2 separate regions of the Homo sapiens genome follow, and region 2 is linked to region 1. The links are contacts of gene promoters, found by promoter capture Hi-C in blood cells and fetal thymus (Javierre and others, 2016). All regions are on one chromosome and are shown on one strand. The core of a region is centred on a gene start or on the middle of the fragment in contact, and the rest is flanking DNA. Distances in the headings are between cores, read along the strand shown.

Region 1 (6,352 bases), core at 2,123-4,622:
CTGAGCTGACACTCTGATCACCCCCTTTTTTGTTGGGTGGTCTCTGGGAATGAGATAATAAATATATTACCACTACCTGCTACATTTCCTGAAAATTTCTTTGCCAAACTTCCAGCATTTTCTTTTTCTTTCCAGATTCTTAAGCAATCTCACTGGCCTTTAGGGGTTTATGTTAGTAACATGGAAATATGAAGACCGTGAACATGGCCCCTCTTCATTTAATCAACCTTAGTTCTTTCTATCATATCTGGTGTTATGTGGCTTTGTGGGGGTTTTGCTTGTTTTTGTTTACTTAAAAATATTTAATTGACAAAAATTGTTTATATTCAAGGTGTACAACATGATGATTTGATATGTGTATACACTGTGTAATGATTACCACAGTCAAATTGATTAACACATCTATCATCCATCACCATCCATAGTTACCATGGGGGTGGTGAGGACACTTAAAATCTGCTCTCTTATCAAATTTCAATAATACAGTATTATTAACTATGGTCACTATATTGCACATTAGATCCCCAGAGCTTATACATCCTATAAGTGAAAGTTTGTACACCAATGCTGACACCGAGGTGGGAGGATCGCTTGAGCTGTTCTCTGTTTTGGACATGCTCCTGCTCATTAATTTCCCCTAAGACGAGGCACTCAGAACTGAATGCAGGACTCTAGGTGTGGTCTGGCTTTGCAGAGTAAGTGGCATGTTACCTTCCTCTGTCTAGATATTTTACTTCCATAAGGAAGCCTCAATGTCACCTTGGCTTTTCTGGAAGCCATGTTAACTGATGACATGCCTTTTGATTACTATCAGCAAAAACCCCTGAACCATTTTCACAAATGCTACTGCTACTCCACTTTCTCCTGGAGTCATTTGAAGTTCAAATTTGGGGCCCAATTATGAGACATCACCTTTAGCCCTGGTAAAATACACTTTGTGGAATTTGGCTTCTCACACCAGGTGATCAAGATCTTTTTGGGAACTAATTGCCCTCTTCTGTCATCCAGTCTAGCACACAAAGCCTTGCACCATTCATAGACTAACCGGGCTACTTTTTATATTTTCCTCAAAGATGATCAATAAAAATGCTGAACAGGATAGCACCAAGAATAGAACCTTATATTGCATTGGGAATCTCTTCAGGTGACACTCAGCTGTTTATTTGCACTATCTGAGTACAGTCTTTCTGTCAGTATGGATGAGTGTGCTAGGGGAGTGGTCGTGGGCAGAGGGTGAAGAAAAGCCTACGTCTACTTGCTCTTTTCCCTTGTGCTCCTCTCTCTCTCTTGTTTAGCTCTCCCATTGGATGCCTATCACCTCCCAGTCCCCACCCCAAGATGGATCTTGAGAAAGGACAGGGCATGTGACAACAAGTGGCATAAGACTGAAGAAAAGAGCCTGGGCACGGTGGCTCACGCATGTAATCCCAGCACTTTGGGAAGCTGAGGCGGGTGGATCACGAGGTCAGGAGATCGAGACCATCCTGGCTAACATGGTGAAACCCCGTCTCTACTAAAAATACAAAAAATTAGCCAGGCGTGGTGGCAGGCACCTGTAGTCCCAACTACTCAGGAGACTGAGGCAGGACAATGGCGTGAACCCGGGAGGTGGAGCTTGCAGTGAGCCGAGATCATGCCACTGCACTCCAGCCTGGGCGACAGGGCAAGACTCCGTCTCAAAAAAAAAAAAAACTGAAGAAAAGAGGAGGGAAGATGAATGCCTGTGGCCAACCCTCAGGCAGGTGAGTGGAACAGCTATTGGGGGTGACTAGCGAAAGGATAGACGTTGTCAATAAAGTAAGGCAATCATACAACACATGCTGTCCATCTGTCTTGTGCAAATGTGAGTATCAACCACTCTATCATCAGTCTACAAATACTTTAAATGTTTTTATTTAAAGTCCTGTTGATGGCTGGGAGAGGTGGCTCACTCCTGTAATCCCTGCATTTTGGGAGGCCAAGGCAGGAGTATCGCTTGAGCCCAGGAGTTTGAGACCAGCCTGGGCAACATAGTGAAACCCCATCTCTACAAAAAGTAGAAAAATTAGCCCAGCACAGTGATGTGTGCCTATAGTCCCAGGTACTAGGGTGACTGAGGTGAGAGGATCACTTGAGCCCAGGAGGTGGAGGCTGCAGTGAGCCATGATCACGCCACTGCACTCCAACCTGGGCTTCAGAGCAAGACCCTGTCTCAAAAAAAAAAAAAAAAAAAAAAGGTCCCAGGGCCTGTTGGGGCTTGGGGGTGAGGGGAGGGATCTTAGAGGATGGGTCAATAGGTGCAGCAAATCACCATGTCACACATATACCTATGTAACAAACTTGCACCTTCTGCACATATACCCCATTTTTTTTGTTTGCTTGTTTGTTTGTTTTTTAGACAAAATAAAGAAAAAAAAATAAGGTCCTGTTGACTTAAAACTTCGGATGAAATTGTAGTGGGACCTGTGATCTGTTTCTACATTAGGATACAGTGCCTTGGGGCAAGGAAATATGGCAGTGCCCGAGGTGTCAAGGTGGGCAGGCAGATCAGTCAGCAGGGGCTCCACCATCATGGTCTGCATTCAATACTGGCTGCATTTCCTAGGAGAATCCCTGGGGGAATCATTGCAGTTGGAGCATAATGTAGGGGGCCCCTGAGAAAACCTCCAGGCTTCAAGTGACATACCTAGTCTGCTTTACCGGTTTACAGGACTCAAGAGAAAGGTGGACATTGAGAGTTAATCCCTGAGGCCAAATCTTAAATGGAGAAAGTCAACATCCACAGAAAATGGGGAAGGGCACAAGTATTTCTGTGGGCTTATATTCCGACATTTTTATCTGTAGGGGAAAAATGCTTTCTTAGAAAATGACTCAGCACGGGGAAGTCTTGTCTCTACCTCTGTCTTGTTTTGTCCTTTGGGGTCCCTTCACTATCAAGTTCAACTGTGTGTCCCTGAGACTCCTCTGCCCCGGAGGACAGGAGACTCGAAAAACGCTCTTCCTGGCCAGTCTCTTTGCTCTGTGTCTGCCAGCCCCCAGCATCTCTCCTCTTTCCTGTAAGCCCCTCTCCCTGTGCTGACTGTCTTCATAGTACTTTAGGTATGTTGTCCCTTTACCTCTGGGAGGATAGCTTGATGACCTGTCTGCTCAGGCCAGCCCCATCTAGAGTCTCAGTGGCCCCAGTCATGTTGAGAAAGGTTCTTTCAAAGATAGACTCAAGATAGTAGTGTCAGAGGTCCCAAGCAAATGAAGGGCGGGGACAGTTGAGGGGGTGGAATAGGGACGGCAGCAGGGAACCAGATAGCATGCTGCTGAGAAGAAAAAAAGACATTGGTTTAGGTCAGGAAGCAAAAAAAGGGAACTGAGTGGCTGTGAAAGGGTGGGGTTTGCTCAGACTGTCCTTCCTCTCTGGACTGTAAGAATATGTCTCCAGGGCCAGTGTCTGCTGCGATCGAGTCCCACCTTCCAAGTCCTGGCATCTCAATGCATCTGGGAAGCTACCTGCATTAAGTCAGGACTGAGGTGGGTCTGGGGTATGGCAGGGGCTGGGCAGCAGCAGCAATGTACCTTGCTTGGGACCCCTAAAAACCAGAGAGACAGCATGGCTGGTGCCATTTATCAGCTAGTGGAGGAGGCTGACGGAGGGTGGGAGTGTCATCAGCACAAGGCCCTGGCAGTCCCTTCTGGTGATTAGAGAGGCCGAAAGGGTCCTTTCCGACAAGGGCTGAGGGTGGGCGGAACAGGAAGAGAAAAATGTGACATGAGGTGACCATCCGAACAGGTAGCAAATGTTAGAAAGGGGTACCTCTGGCAAACTTAGTGGAAAAGTAATATTGCAGGGAGCAGTCAGATAAAAACAAGCCCTTCTGTCAAATAGTGCTTGAAGACTCAATAGGGATACATGGGTCAATGAAGCCTTTAGAAAAAGAAATACTAAGAGGCAGATTCTCTGAGAACATGGTAAAAGCTCACGCTCCACGTTATGAAGTTGACCTTTGTGAGCTAGGGAAAGGCCTGGCTAGGCCAGGGTGTAGGCTACCTGCCTTGAGCTGTACCAGGCCAAATGTCGCCAGGGTCAGAGCTGGCTTATTAAAGGACTGTGTGGAAGCTGTGCCAACCTCGTGGTAACAATGGGTAAAAGACTGGGCCAGGAGAAAGCAGCCTCTGCCTCAGCCCAGACAGTGCGGCCAACCCTTGAGGTTGTGGCAAAGGTTTCTCCTCTTACCATTGCCCTCCATGTGCATGGCTTGCTTTTCTCTTGTCTTCATTATTTCTCCTTTCCTTTCCTCCTCTCCAACCTCCTCCTCTTCCCACTCATCCTCTTTTCTCTACCTATATCCCCTCTTCATTATACCCTCCTCTGTTCTGTTGATTACCAGACCCTGACATACAGTTAGCACTTAACAAATAATTGCCGAATTGCATTGACTTTTTCTTGCTCCTTTCTTCCCCCGCTCTTTTCCCTTTTCCTTTCCCTTTCCATTTCCTCCTCCCTGCCTGCCTAGCACCTTCCCCATAAGGTGGTTGTGAGCAGTAAATGTGCAAATACATGTAAAGCTTTTAAAACAGGGCCTGGCAATAGTAAGTGCTGGATCTCAGTATTTGCTATAATTTTTACTCTGCCTCAGACCTGCCAATGTCCCCCAGAGGGCCTACCTAGAGCAAATAATATGACATTTAGAATAAAAGTGATTGGTGACCCCAATCAAGACATCCTTGGATAAGTTGCCCAGACTCCAGCCTCTCTGGAGCCTCAGTTATTTGATAAAATAATGTCACTTTCCAAATAAGCCACAAAATGCAAATACTCATGGCAACCTAAAGCATTATACCCAAACAGTGTCCCTTAGGGCTTGTCCTGTCTATTCTGACTCCTTTTATATTCAAACTATTTAAACTGCTTGCTTGTGTTGAAGTCCAAATTTCCATTGCGTATGGCTATTGATATTTTTGTTTGGAATTTTTTTTTTTTTTTTTTGACACGGAGTTTCACTCTTGCTGCCCAGGCTGGAGTGCAATGGCACGATCTCGGGATCTCAGCTCACCGCAACCTCCGCCTCCCGGGTTCAAACAATTCTCCTGCCTCAGCCTCCCAAGTAGCTGGGATTACAGGCATGTGCCACCACGCCCAGCTAATTTTGTATTTCTAGTAGAGACGGGGTTTCTCCATGTTGGTCAGGCTGGTCTCGAACTCCCAACCTCAGGTGATCTGCCTGCTTGGGCCTCCCAAAGTGCTAGGATTACAGGCGTGAGCCACCGCACCCACCCTGGAATTCTTTGTAAACTCCTTATGGTGCGAACTAATGTAACTTTCCATCCAGTTATGGGGGATTGGTGCAATTTTAAATTATCACTATGATTTGCTATTTCCATTTGAGCAAATTTCCTATAGAGTTTCCTTTCAGTGGACTAGACCCATATCAGGAAGTGACTTAGGTATAAAGGGAAGATACAGCTTTCGAAAACCAAAGTTTGGGCGTTCTCCAAAGAGTTATCAGATACCCCCTTCTACACCCACAATGATCTGATTGCTGAGATCTGATTGCTAACTACTGAAAATAAGGAAGAACTAGAATTTTCAGTGACACAGTGCTCAGCAAGAAGCTAGAAAAGAGGCCTTGACATATTTGACTCCAAAGCTACTTGGTTATGCATGAAGCCATCTGGGGAGGGGAAGGAGGAGGGAGAACTCCTCTGAGGACCCTGAAACAATTGGGCCACGTGTGACTTTCAGTTTCTATGGAGATTCATGTGCAGTGGCTGAGGGCAATCTGAGAGCATTGGAAACCCAGAAGCTTTAATACCAGGCTCTTCTCTCCGCTCTTAGAAAGTTCTCACAAGATGTCTTTAGGATTATATTGGTTATTTGAATCTCAAGGAGAAGCTCCTCTCACTGCCCTACCTCCCTGAACTGAAAACAAACTGTAGTCTGTTAGCTCACCCTAGAAGAAGGAAATTCTAGAGTCAAGAGAAGTTAAGTTTTAGACAAGCTGGAAGTTGGAATATACTGGAGTTTAAGATCATTGACTCAATGAAAAAAAAAAAAGATTTGTCTGCAGTAAAACCAGAGTTTTAAAAATGATTAGAAATGGACCAGAAAAGAGATAAGGATAATGAGAAAGGGGGCTCTCTAAAACTATTTGGAACTGAAATTGGGACAATGTTTCTGGAAACTATTTTGGCAGTATGTATCAAAATGCAAAATGCACATACTTTTTTGACTCTGGAAATGATGCTTGTATAGAGATCCTAATAACATGGGAAAATAATTAGGAATAATGTTAAATAAGAACATTAGATCTTTTTTTGGAAAAAGGTACCTTGAACGGATGGATGGATGGATAGATACATACATACATGCATACATACATAC
Region 2 (6,352 bases), core at 1,866-4,365, 260 kb before region 1:
TTATACAAGCTCTTCTATAGCCTAGAAATAAGTAATGTTGTTCAATGCATTTTATGAGCCAAATATCTTTTATATTAAAACTGACAAGATCAGTATAAAAAATGAAATTTCAAACAAGTCTCAAAATATAAATGTGAAAATCTTAAACAAAATACCAGCAAGTAGAATCCAGCAATGTATTTTAAAAAGTCATGATCAGAATGGTAACGCAGAGCTGGCTTAACATTTTAAAAAATCTATCAAAGCTTAATTGATACATTCTAACACTATATGGAAATATAAAGACCCAACAAGAGCTACATCAATTTGGAAACAAAGGATAGAGTGGAGACTTACCCTACTGGATAGTAAGATACACTGTATGTGTCAGTCAGGGTAACAATATGCTATACTGAAGTAACAAATGAACCTCAAAACCTCAGTGAAGTAAACAAAGGTTTATTTCCTATTTACGTAAAATTTAATGATTAGGCAGCTCTCCAGTCTTCCATGCAGTTACTCAGGAACCTAAGGCTTCTTCCATCTTGTGGTTCCTCCATCTAAACACACAGCCTTTTACACCAGTTTTAAATAACCTTGACCCAGAAATAATAAACATTACTTTGCTTGTAGTGTGTAGTCCAGATAGTCATATGACCTCAATCTAACTGCAAGGCAAGCTAGGAAAGTAAGTACAAAAATCATTTGGTGAGTACCAGCTCTCCCTGCCGTATCATAGTAACAAAAGTAATATGGAAGAGATAAATACATAAATGGAAACGTTTAGAGACAGACTTAAGTAGATACAGAAAAAATAGGCAGCACAAATCAATGGAGAAAGGATGGACGGTATAATACATGTTATTGGAAAGACTAGTTCACTATTTGAAGAAAAATAAAGCTGGAACCCTCCTTAGCACCATGTATAAATCTAGACTACAGAGAATAAAATAAATTTGAAAGCTAAAATTATGAAGTTAATAGATGATGATATAGGAAAAAATCTTTGTGGCCTAGAATTAGATAACAATTTCTTAAACAAAACCTCAGAAGTAGATGCCATAAGACACAAAAGATTAATAGATTTGATTACATAAAAAATAAGAATTTCTATTCAATGAGAGACACCATAAACAAAGTTAATAGATGACAGAGAAAAGTTATTTACAATACCTTTAACAAAGGATTAATAGCTAGCATATACAAAGTACTCCTGCAAATCCAAAAGAAAAAGACAGGAATACACTGCCTTAAAGTGACAAAAGAGGACGGACGGATGAGGTGGCTCCTGCCTGTAATGCCAGTGCTTTGGGAGGCCAAGGCAGAAGGATAGCTTGAGGCCAGGAGTTGAAGACCAGCTTAGGCAACATGGCAAGATCTTGTTTCTACAAAAAAAAAAAAAAAAAAAAAAAAACCTATTTTAAAAAATTAGCTGAATGTGATGGTGCATGCCTCTGGTTCCAGCTACTTGGAGCAGCTAGGCAGAAGAATCGCTTGAGCCCAGGAGGTCAAGACTGCAGTGAGCCATGTTTGTGCCACTGCACTCCAGCCTGGGTGACAGAGTGAGACCCTATCTCAAAAAGTAAAATAAAGTAAAATAAAATAAACTGACAAAACATGACAAATATACCCAGAGGAGATGAAAACCAAAATGCTCAGAAATAAATGAAGAGATGTTCAAACTCATTATTAACCAGTTAATTGCTAATTAAAATTCAGTTATAAATCCGTTTATACCTATTTGGCTGGCAAAAATTTTAAAGCTGGGACCTGCCGATTGTTAGTGAGGGTACAAAGATAGAGGAATTCTAATGCACACAGCTGATTAGAGTTTAGACTGGAGCTGCTATTCCAAAGAGCAATCTGACATACATAAATGAATTATACATATGCCCTATGACTCAACAATTCCATTCATTTTATATATATTCCAGAACACTTTTCATGTAGGTCCATAAGGGGACATGCATGAGGACGTTCATCACAATGTATGAGGTAACAGAAAGTTGGAAGCAGTATAGATTTTATTTCCTGGAAAATGAGGAAGTAAATTGGAGTGGATGAATACCATGGTACATTATGCAACAGTGTGAAACTACAGACCATGTACACAGAGTGACATAGATGGATCTTTAAAAAAATATTACTGAGTGGGGAAAAAAGCCAGAATAAGATCCACAGCACCATACTACTATCTAAATCCATGCATACAAAGTAATGTAAGTTTTAAAATAACTCAAACAAACATACACATCAAATAAATTAGAAGGTTGCCTTTGGGGAGGAGATGGAAGTAAAGAATAGAGAAGAAAGGAAACAAATAAAGTAGTAAATGAATTAATAAAGGAAAGAAAATGGGTTTTGATTAGACCAATGCAGATGGTATGCTACGAAGGGAAGAATATGGTTAGTATAATCCTCATCACCTAAGGTCCAAAAAAAAAGGAAGGACAGAAATCCATTAATGTTGTAGTAGTATAAAAGTCTAAACTGCTGTAATGAAAAACTCAAAAATTGTATGACTTAAAAAATATATTTTCATTACCAAAAGAGTCTGAGGTTAATGTTCCAGGTCAGCAGAGAGGCTCTGCTACACGTGGCCATTCAGGGTCCCAGGCTCATTCCATCTTGTAGCTCCATCCTTCTCTAGGTACTCAAAGTTATCTCCATTCAGCGGGTAGATAGGAAAAGAGAGAGCACAAGTCAAGCATGAGGAAGTTTCATGAGGCAAAATCTGGAACACATCACTCCTGCCACAATCCATTGGCCAGAACTCAGTCTCATGGTTGCACCCAATCATAGGGGACGTTGACCACTATAGCTAGGCCACTATTGACCAATCTAGCTGGATTCCAAGGAGTGGGCAGAAAACATGGATATTGGAGAGCACTAACAGCCTCTACCACAGTTTGCAAGAGCTTTGTTGAGGGAATTATAAAATGTTTTTAAGAGATATTAATCATCCAAAACGCTGATCTCAGTGACTGCTTTTACTAGGCAATGGTTTACAAATGTTTTCAACCTCATTGGTACAGTTCTCAGGGCTAGTTTGATGCCCAAGTTTCTCTCTCCACCCTCGATGTCCACGATCAGTAATGTCTTCCATTTCCCCTGCAACTGTGTCCATCCCCCAAAACGTGAGGGCGGAGAGGCAGGCAGGGATTAGAATTAGAAAATGGACAGCATGTCAGTAACAGAGGCAGGGAATGAACATGAGATTTGTACTTCCTCATATTTTCACTTCCTCATGTACTATTACCGCCTTAAAAAATAAGCATCAGTGGCCAGGCGCGGTGGCTCATGCCTGTAGTCTCAACACTTTGGGAGGCCAAGGCGGGCAGATCACCTGAAGTCAGGAGTTCAAGACCAGCCTGGCTAGCATGGTGAAACTCCACCTCTACTAAAAATATAAAAATTAGCTGGGCGGGGTGGCACACGCCTGTAGTCCCAGCTACTCAGGAGGCTGAGGCAGGAGAATCGCTTGAACCCTGGAGGCGGAGGTTGCCGTAAGCCTAGATCGTGCCAATTCACTCCAGCCTAGGTGACAGAGCGAGAGACTCCATCAAAAAAAAAAAAGCGTCAGTATGCAATCATTTTTACAATCAGAAAAAAAATGAAGTTATGGTCACTGAAAAATTAATGAGGAATTAATCTGGGAAAAATCTATCATAAAAAATATTTCTGGCCAGGTGCGGTAACTCACACCTGTAATCCCAGCACTTTGGAAGGCCAAGGCAGGTGGATCACTTGAGGCCAGGAGTTCGAGAGCAGCCTGGCCCACATGGCGAAACCCTGTCTCTAGTAAATATACAAAAATTATCCGGGGATAGCAGTGCACACCTGTAATCCCAGCTACTCATTAGGCTGAGGCAGGAGAATCGCTTGAACCTAGGAGGTGGAGTTTGCAGTGAGCCAAAATGGCACCACTGTACTCTAGCCTGGGTAAGAGTGAGGGAGACTCAGTCTAAAAAAAAAAAAAAAAAAAAAAAAAAAAAAAAAAAAAGTCCAATTTAAGAGGGAGGAAGTGCCTTAGCACAATTACGTTTTATGAATGTATTGCTTTTCTGCACAAGAAGAGTTTATAAACATGCTAAGGTATTTGATAAGGTGATTGGTAAGGTTTTTGATAAGGTATTTAGAAGGATTAGACTGAATCCTTCTAAACAATGAAATTTAACTCTGAGCAAAGGGAAGAGCTGTGAGATTGATGCTGCAAGGTATGAGGAATGCAGAGATGGTCCTATCCTTTCTGCCCAGTCAAGATAGGGGGAAGGTGCTGCCCCCATCCCCTCTCATATTTCAGAACGTCTCATTTCCTGCATATGGGCACCTGACTCTTGCTCACTCCAAAAATATACCTGGACAGATGACCAAGGTGGTGACCTGAGTAAATGCTTTTGGATCCTTCCCTCCTCCCTCTCCTAAATTTCCACAGGGGTAACCCAGCCCCAGCAGAGAAGGGAGCACTGTTCCTGCCACTGGAAACCAGAACTCATGCCTTCTAGACCCTTGCAGCTGAGGGTGTCCATGAGGCCTGGAGAAGTGATTGCTGGGGGAGTGTCCCTAGCCATCTCCCTGCTCTCTGCCCTTATTCACAGTGTCTGAGTGGAAGCCTCCCTGGACCCTATCTGCTGCCTCCCACCTATCATGAGCAGTGCAGTCTGGTGGGCCTTTCATGCCCAAAATCTGCATCTCCAGGGAATCTAGGGAACCTAGCTTTGCTGCCTTTCAGTCACCTTCCTCCCTAGTGGCCCTTCAGCCAGGCTAAGGACAGTGTCCAAGAAACTCTCACCTACTGACCATACTGATTAACCTAGACCAGGTGTTCTCAACTGGATAAGTCTATAAACTCCTGGAAATTGTATACAAGGTTGTGTATTGGGAGTGAGGGGAAGGTGCATATAAGTTTTCCAGGTGAGCGGCTATAAGCTATAATTATTAACATGTTTTTAATGGGAAGTATAACCCTAAATATATTAAAAACCACTGGCCCAGAAGGTCTATGTTTATATTTGTTCTAAATAGGATGATTTTCATTTTTTAATAGTAAAACTAATATAGTCATTGTAAAAATGTCAAACAACGCAGAAATGTATTGTATTCATTCATTCACTTAATAAGTCTCTATTGAGCACCTATGCAAGGCATTGAGAATACAATGGTAGGAAAAACAGACTAGGTCTTTGTATTCATGAAGCTCACAGATTAGTGGGGTATATACATTAATCAAATAATCACATGAGTGTATGGATAATTATAATTCCACATAAATACAAAGAAGGAATGGAACACAGGTATGTATATGAGTATATTGCTGCAGATCAAGACATACTCTGAGGGGCTAAAAAGGGAACAAAGAAAACTTCCCTAAGGAAGTAAAATTTGAGAGGAAATAAGGAAAAGTATAATTACTAGGCAAAGAGGATAATATAAATGTCTGGTAATCATACATCCTGCAGAATGCCATAGCTAACACATATGTGTAATTGGAATAAATCACAGTCCACAAACCCAAGTGTATAAAACATCCAGCTTTTATTTTCTATAGCAATACTCATAATTTATATTTTGTCTTCTCATCCCATTGTTGTGCTGAAATGGAATCAATTTAGGATCTGCTGCATTTTCCGTGGTGTGTCTAAGATCAAAGATGCTTACAAAGCACCTTAGAGTTGTTGGAGGAGGTCCACATGATTCTAGTAATACTGCTCTACATAATTCACCATTTTCATTCCTTCCTCAGGACCTCTTCAAATATTGTAGCTCTCTATTTTGCTTGTGTCGACCTTGAATGATCAAGACTTTCTGTGTTGCTTCCCTGCCTTTGCTATGCTGAGATACAGAAAACTTCGTTAGACTCTATACTATATGTCTGGAAGCAATGTAAAGCAGCAATGCTTCAGGTATCTCTTAACAGGTATGACATGTCACCTACACAATTTAATCCAACAAAACTGTCCAGCGAACTTCCAGTCAACAGCAGACTGAAGTGAGTTGGAAAGCTTCCCCCTTCCCACTCGAAACTCACAGATGTGATAGAATGCTAAAAACAGTAAATAGTCAAGTTCATCATCATGAAATGGAAATCTCCAAGAAACAAAGAAGGAGCTAGCAAGGAGCGGGAGATAAAGACAGACGGCTATCGGCTTTAAGATCTAGAGACCAGGATTTAATCCCACATAGGGACAGAAAACAATGCCTCTAGGCAGTGGAAGATGGGAAGCTGGTACTGAGCTCCAATCTAAATCTAGGCCCCACAGAAACACAACCAGTACATGAAATGATAACTAGAAAACTTTATCCCACAGCAAAGATACATGAGAAGAAAGCTCATCTTTTATGTGAGGTCATGGGTGGATACAGAGCCCCCTGG

The links. Contacts are between HindIII fragments. The CHiCAGO score rates a contact against its expected background, and 5 or more counts as called.
Region 2: a fragment that was not itself captured here is called in contact with the fragment with the promoter of BTK in region 1 in 2 of 17 cell types (M0 macrophages and M1 macrophages); the score reaches 6.9 in M0 macrophages.

What each region holds. Positions count from the first base shown.
Region 1 is chrX:101,383,211-101,389,562 of GRCh38, reverse strand. It overlaps BTK (Bruton tyrosine kinase), which reads left to right and starts at 3,372. Exons shown (of 19, transcript NM_000061.3): 1 at 3,372-3,501. RefSeq lists an enhancer at 3,886-4,105. The HindIII fragment of the contact is 7,609 bases long and covers 1-4,538 here.
Region 2 is chrX:101,638,003-101,644,354 of GRCh38, reverse strand. No RefSeq gene overlaps it. Among named protein-coding and RNA genes, the nearest start is that of ARMCX3, 18 kb to the right of the region's middle. The HindIII fragment of the contact is 5,736 bases long and covers 248-5,983 here.